2 separate regions of the Homo sapiens genome follow, and region 2 is linked to region 1. Evidence: promoter capture Hi-C in human tissues and cell types (Jung and others, 2019). All regions are on one chromosome and are shown on one strand. The core of a region is centred on a gene start or on the middle of the fragment in contact, and the rest is flanking DNA. Distances in the headings are between cores, read along the strand shown. Region 1 holds the start of ZBTB21 (zinc finger and BTB domain containing 21). Region 2 has its middle 15 kb from the start of RIPK4.

Region 1 (3,485 bases), core at 986-3,485:
TTCCAAGCATGGATGAGACTGCATAGGGTGTGTGTGCCAAGAAACCCAGTGCGAGCATGGGCAGGGGCAGAAGGGCCAACACAGCCGGCCCAGGAGGAGCAGTCAGCCAAGAGGTGGGAAATCCAGGGAATGAGGCGTAACTGAAGCAATCACTGCTGAAGCAATTGGAAGCGTGTCACAAATCAAAGAGAGCAACTGAAAGATGCAACGGTTTCTGCCAGATTTGGCAGTCAGGTCAATTCCAGTGAAATGGTGAGGCCAAAAGCCTGATCATATAGCTCAAAGCAGAGACACCAATGTGTATCGTCCTGAGGAAGGTTGAAAAAACAAAAAACAAAACAAAACAAAAAAACAGCTAAGCAGGTGGCTAGAAAGGGATCGCTCAAGGGAGGCTGCTTCCAGCATGCGGTAAAGCCAGTACTAGTTTTCTCACCTATAAAACTAGGATAACAGCACACACTCCCCCAGCCTAATCACAGGGGAACCTAAAACTCAAGGTTCTTTTAAGACTTATAATCACTGTTGCCTTCTACCTTCAGAACAGTCACTTTGTGCTTTTCCACCATACAGTTCAAAATACAGACACTCTTTAGGCTGGGCATGGTGGCTCACACCTGTTATCCAAGCACATTGGGAGGCTGAGGCGGGTGGATTGCTTCAGACCAGGAGTTTGAAACCAGCCTGAGCAACATGGTGAAACTCCATCTCTACCAAAAATACAAAAATCAGCTAGGTGTGACGGATGCACCTATAGTCCCAGCTACTGCCGAGGCTGAGACGGGAGGATGGCTTGAGCCAGGGAGTGGAGGCTGCAGTGAGCTGAGATCATGCCACTGCACTCCAGCCTGGGACTGACAGAGACTCCATCTCAGGAAAAAAAAAAAAAAATTTAAAGTGTTTTAAAGTTGTAGGAGAAAATTTTTAGGTGCAAGATTCTTTATGTAAGACTAAGAGTCCTCTTAAAATTAGTCAAACTAATAATCTACAACAGAGCTGTTAATTTGGCAACAAATTTTTAATTTGTATCAATCTAATGTCTGTCTTTCACATACTTCCAAACATTACATAAATTATTTTACCTAGTGCATACAACTTTCAAAAACTGTATTTGGCAATTAACAGACCCCTGACAATTATTAACAGGGGTTTTACATCCCGGAGTTTGAGTGTCTGCGGGAGAACCGTCCCTGCAGGAGGCACTCCCCCTCCACCTGCGACCCGGGCTGGGAGAACGCGCGGAGGGCTCCCTTGAGCGGTCTCCGCCAGCGAGGCTTTCCTCCCGGTCGGTGTTGACAGTGTGGCATTTCTGTTATCTAATTTCTGGTTTTGACTGAAAGCGAAGTGAGTTTTCTCATCAGTGGAGTTGTAATATTTCTGCAAAAAAAAAAAAGATCACAGCCCTCCGATGAGCCGGGCACTATGCGAAGTCTCCGGCTGCCTGCGGGCCGCTGTGGACGCCCCGGCGGGGGTCAGGACCGACCCCCATCTGCGCGGCGAACGAGCCCGGACGCCCTGGCCGCGGCCGCCGGGTCCCCGCCCAGGGGCCAGGTGGCCAGGTTGCGTCGGGAGGAGGAAATGGAAGCGCTCTGAGCGACTAGCGAGCGGCAGGAGCCGCCTCCCGCGGGCTTTCCTCGCGGGCCGGGAGCGTCTGCCGCCGACCCGAGGACCGCAGGGCCCCGCTCGCCGCCCGCGCCCGTCAGAAAGCCGCGCGTCGCTCCCGTCGCTGTCGGGGTCGTCGGCTCGGGGAGTCGCCCGCCGTCCACCGGTGAACGGGAGCGCGTCCTCCCCTCCGAGGGACTAAGCGCTCGCGCCACGCATCCCGCCGCGCCGGAAGCGGGGACTACTGGCGGCCCAGCTGGGCAGGACCGCGGCCGAATGACCCGGGGCGACCCCGCAGCAAGGGCGCCTCCGGCAGGCGGCAAAGTCCCCTGAGAATCGGCGCGCTCCTCGCCGCGACGGACTCCACCCGGCCGGGGCGCTCAGCCTCCTCGCCGTGGCCCCCAGCCCGGCCGCCTCCCCTAACGGCCGCCGCAGGCTCCCCTCATGGACCGAGAGCGCGGGCTTGCAGCGCGGCAGCGTCCGTTCGGCGCGCGGCTCCGGGCAGGCCCGCCCTCCCCCGTCCCCCTGCGCCGCGAGGCCCCCCCCCCGCCCCGCCCTCCGGCGCCCGGCGCCCAATCAGAGTGCCGCGCACGTGACGAGCGATGCCTGCGATGACCTCATCCCTGGTGTGGGATGACGTCAAATTCAAGATGGATGGAATCACAGCGGCAGCGGCGGCTGCGGCGCGCGCGAGCCGAGTGTGAGCGGAAAGGGGCCCGGCGTCTGCCTCGAGACTGAAGACCGGTGAGTAACTGTCACGCCCCTAGCTCTAGGAGAACTGCGGGGCTCCTTGGGAGGCTACAGCCTCCCCGCAAAACGCGGCCTTTCCTGACGTAACTCTGAGGTGATTTCTCTCCTCTTTTTTCTCCACCAGCGGGTTGCGGGCTCCGAGCGCTTCTGCGCGTGCGCGGGACCTGGGCGCTCACCGAGCATGTCCCGGGTTCCCACGTAGCCGATTGTACCTTCACACTGCGCACGCTCCCTGCCAGCACTTGGCCTCGCCCTCGCGAATGCGCATGCTCCATTCCCTCACGGGCTTCACTCTTCACCCTGGCCGAGCTGCCCCTGGGGTAGGGGACACGCCTGGCCCAGGCGCGCGCCCCTCGCGCGGAGCGGTTGAAACGCCTCGTGGAGAAGGGCGCGTTCTCCTGTTCCGGGCAGGGGTTGGGGGCCGGCGGCCCGGGCCGCGGGGTGTGCGCGGAAGCTGGCCGGCGGCCTTGGGGACCCCGCACCTGCCGCGACCCGCCGCTCCCTTCACGGTCCGGGACCTAGCCCCGCCGCCCCGTCCTCGGCCCGGTGGCCGGAGCGTGACCGCTCGGTGCCCGCTGGACGCTCCCTCCCCGCCCCCGGCCCCTCCCGCGGACGCCTGGACCTCACAGCGCGTTTTTTTTCCTCCAGAGCCCCCGCAGACCTTGTCTGGGACTTCCCGGCGGTCCCGCAGAGCATAGCACCCTCCGCCGGCCAGGAGCCCTGCTGCTCGGCCGGCGACCGTCTCCCCGCTTGGAGGAGCCCCCTTCCCCCCGTCCGAGGTCCGCGGCTGGAGGGGCAGGGAGTCAAGACGCCACCCGTGCCGGCCTTAGAGACGCCCGCGGCAGCCCCGCCACATCTCTTCCCGGCTTTTCGGGAACACGCCCCGTAGTCCATCCTCAGCGGCTCCTGCTTTTCCATCCCAGCACACCGCTGGGGGCTCGCACTCTGCCCCCGGTTGCTATGCGGTCCCAGCCACGAGGGCTCTGCGGTTCGGGAGAATTCCGCAAGAGCGCGCGTTCGGAGGCGGGGTGTTTTTAGACAGGTGCCCCGGTGGGATTGCCTGACCGAGAGGACGGGGAAAGTTAGACTTCACACGGCCTGGGGTTTTTCCTTTCGTGCAAGCGCTCACAGCCCTG
Region 2 (3,414 bases), core at 754-3,253, 230 kb after region 1:
ATTAAAATTTTGGCCAGGTGCAGTGGCTCACGCCTGTAATCCCAGCACTTTGGGAGGCCGAGGTGGGCAGATCACCTGAGGTCAGGAGTTCGAGGCCAGCCTGGCCAACATGGTGAAACACCGTCTGTACTAAAAATACAAAACAATTAGCCGGGCGTGGTGGCACATGCCTGTAATCCCAGTTACCAGGGAGGCTGAGGCAGGAGAATTGCTTGAATCCAGGGGGTGGAGGTTGCAATGAGCCAAGATCGCACCACAGCACTGCACTCCAGCCTGGGCAACAGAGTGAGACTCTGTCTCAAAAAAAAAAAAAACAAAAAAAAAAATTTAAAATGTTCACGTACAGTCAGACCTTTGCTCTGGTCCTGCTTCCCACTAGATAGGTCTTAGGCTTGAGCCGCAGTCTTCATGATAAATATTGACTTTTCTTTCAACAAATTAAAAATGAGCATTTAAATAATGCCATACTTTGCTTAAGCTTTAAATTACAAATCAGATGAGCAGTCATAAAGGCATGTTTGAATCTAACGTAAAGGTTACATTACTTAAGGTCCCTTTCATCTGAGTTCCCTGCAGCGCATGAAGACGTCCAGTGACCCCTCTGCTGGGGCAGGTGTGTGTGATTTCACCACACATGTCTCCCAGACCTTGAGATCACAAGTCAGAACATGTGTAGGTTGCTGAAAGCACAGAAACCCTGATTTTTAAAGAACACATTTTACACAGTTGCGTATATAACTTGGACCTGCTACTGTTTCATAACTTTTATTTTTCCCAAATATAGTATGCATCATTATTTGCACGATCATCTCAATTCTTTTCTTGGTTCAGCAATGTGTTTTGTTTTATCATTTTAAAAATAAAAATGGTGGCCAGGCATGGTGGCTCACGCCTGTAATCCCAGCACTTTGTGAGGCCGAGGTGGGCAGATCACCAGGTCAGGAGTTCGAGACCAGCCTGGCCAACATGGTGAAACCCTGTCTCTACTAAAAATACAAAAATTAGCTGGTCGTGGTGGCAGGCGCCTGTAATCCCAGCTATGTGGGAGGCTGAGGCAGGAGAATTGCTTGAACCTGGGAGGCGGAGGTTGCAGTGAGCGGAGATCATGCCATTGCACTCCAGCCTGGGCGACAAGGGCAAGACTCCATCTCAAAAAAAAAAAAAAAAAAAAAAAAGGCATATATTTACATTGTGTAACATGATGTGTTGATAGAGATACTCACAGCAAAGTTACTACGGTCAAGCATATGAACATGTCCACCTCCCCACGGTTGCGTTTTGTGTGTTTGTGTGGTGACAGCACCTGAAATCTCTCTTGGTAAATTTCCGGGGTACAGCACAGAATTGTTAAGTACAGTCCTCAGGCTCTGCACTGGACCTCTAGACTTAGTCGTCCTATGTAACTGCAACTCTGTACCCTTTTAAAATGATATATTGTTAAAAAGTAAATATGTTTTGCTGACTTTTAAAATTGATAGTAAAAATAATTAAATCATGAAAATCTGTCCATTGCTAGTGGATAGAGGTAACTAATAAACTTGGAGGGTGGGAGAAAACAGGGAGGAAATAGGCATTTTTAAAAACTGTAAGTAAACTTTCAATAATATATTTCCCCTTTCATTCTCACAATGGCTGTCTCCCTAAAGGTTCACCCCAAGAAACACAGTGCAGCTCGCTTTGGTAGAAATGACAGTTTCCCATTTATGTAAAATTAGTTGGCATAAAGTGTAGAGGAGGAAGAGAGAGCATTGCTGTTTGGAGGAACAAGTTCCCCAAATATGTATTTACATTATGATAATGAGCCTAATTAATAGAATGCTTGCATTATCCATTTTTATTGATTTTAATTATTATTTCGTGCTGATATTTTCCTTGTCTTTTATGATTTTTTATTTTTTTGAGACAAGGTTTCACTTTGTTGCCCAGGCTGGAGTGCAGTGTTGTGATCATGGCTGACTGCAGCCTCAAACTCCTGGGCTCGAGCAATCCTCCCACCTCAGCCTCCAAAATATCCAGGATCACAAGTGCATGCCACCATGTTCGCTAATTTTGTTTATTTTGGGGGGAGACGGGGTCTCACTCTGTTGCCCAGGTTAGTCTTGAACTCCTGGGCTTGAGTGATCCTCCCACTTTCCAGAGTGCTGGGATTACAGGCATGAGGCACTGTGTCTGGCCAATATTTTTCTTTTAAATTACAGCTTCTTAACTTTTATTTTCTCATGCCAAAAATCTCAGTTCTTTACCATAGAGCTAATGATAGAGTTTCTATATCACATTTCCTTTATGCTTCAACACACACAGGGCAGTCTCAGGATAACATCAACACTCAGCCAATAGTGTGATTGTGGGAAAGGGGTTAAGATGCCTCCCTCCCTCCTTCCCTCCCTCCCTCCCTCCCTCCCTTCCTTCCTTCCTTCCTTCCTTCCTTCCTTTCCTCCCTCTCCTCCCTCCCCTCCTTCCTTCCTTTCTTTCTTTCCTCCTCTCCTCTCTCTTTCTTTCTCCCTCCCTCTCTTGCTTTCTTTCTCTTTCTCTCTCTTTCTCTCTCTCCCTCCCTCCCTCCTTTCTTTCTTTCTTCCTTTCCTTCCTTTCTTCCTTTCCTTTCTTTCTCTGTTCTTTTTGCCCTTAGTGCATTTTCCACTAGTAGTTACTTTTAAATTCCTACGTTTTAAAGTCAATTGGAATAGCTCCCCTCTGGTTAGTCAGGCTACCAAATGGATACACATTTGGTTCATTTGTCTTATTTTATTTTTGGTATTTAGACATTGCTTTTTAAAGTTAATTGTGTTTTATAAGGATGTAAAATATTTGCATGGTTTCATAGTCAAATCTAGAAAACAGGGCATGTGCAACAAGGACTTGTGTCTTCCCCCAGAGACTTCCAGCCCCCTCCCTGTGGACTGTGCTCACACTGTTTATTTTTAGAATGGAAGCAGATAGGGAGAGATAGATTGATTGATGGTAGATAGATGATAGAGAACAGGTAGGCAAGTAGTTAGGTAGTACATAGATGATGAATGGTAGAAACATAGATAGATAATAGATGGATGGGAATAAAGATAGTAAATAGATAGACAGAGGGATGGGTCCCTATTTCCTGCCTGTACTGGAAAAATGGAAGATTTCCTCCACCTTGCTCTGTTCAGAGTGGTCTGTGCAATCACTCCAGAGGCACGTGTAGACACAGTCCTCCTCCCATTTTCACAATTGCACGGCAGTCTTTCCTATGGATGAGTGATAATAATTCAACCATCGCCCATCCATGGGGATTTGGGGTGCTTCACATCTTTTGCTTTTACAGACTATATAATACATTAAGAGAAGTGGGTCTCATTATGTAAATGCCTGCGCCTTGCTTTTTTTATTGAATATAATTTGATTTTATTATATTTGTTTTCACTTTTTAAATGGCTGTGT

The links. The method cuts DNA at HindIII sites, captures the fragments that hold promoters and counts their contacts. A contact is called where the count stands out against the background at its distance.
Region 2: a fragment that was not itself captured here is called in contact with the fragment with the promoter of ZBTB21 in region 1 in 2 of the 25 tissues and cell types used here (mesendoderm cells and thymus).

The regions. Positions count from the first base shown.
Region 1 is chr21:42,009,110-42,012,594 of GRCh38, reverse strand. ZBTB21 (zinc finger and BTB domain containing 21) reads left to right here and starts at 2,235. Exons shown (of 3, transcript NM_001098402.2): 1 at 2,235-2,343. It overlaps ZNF295-AS1 (ZNF295 antisense RNA 1), which reads right to left and starts at 3,401. Exons shown (of 2, transcript NR_119384.1): 1 at 3,011-3,401. RefSeq lists silencers at 1,423-2,162, 2,603-2,912, 2,953-3,062. The HindIII fragment of the contact is 7,901 bases long and covers 1-3,485 here.
Region 2 is chr21:41,780,005-41,783,418 of GRCh38, reverse strand. No RefSeq gene overlaps it. Among named protein-coding and RNA genes, the nearest start is that of RIPK4, 15 kb to the right of the region's middle. The HindIII fragment of the contact is 9,090 bases long and covers 1-3,414 here.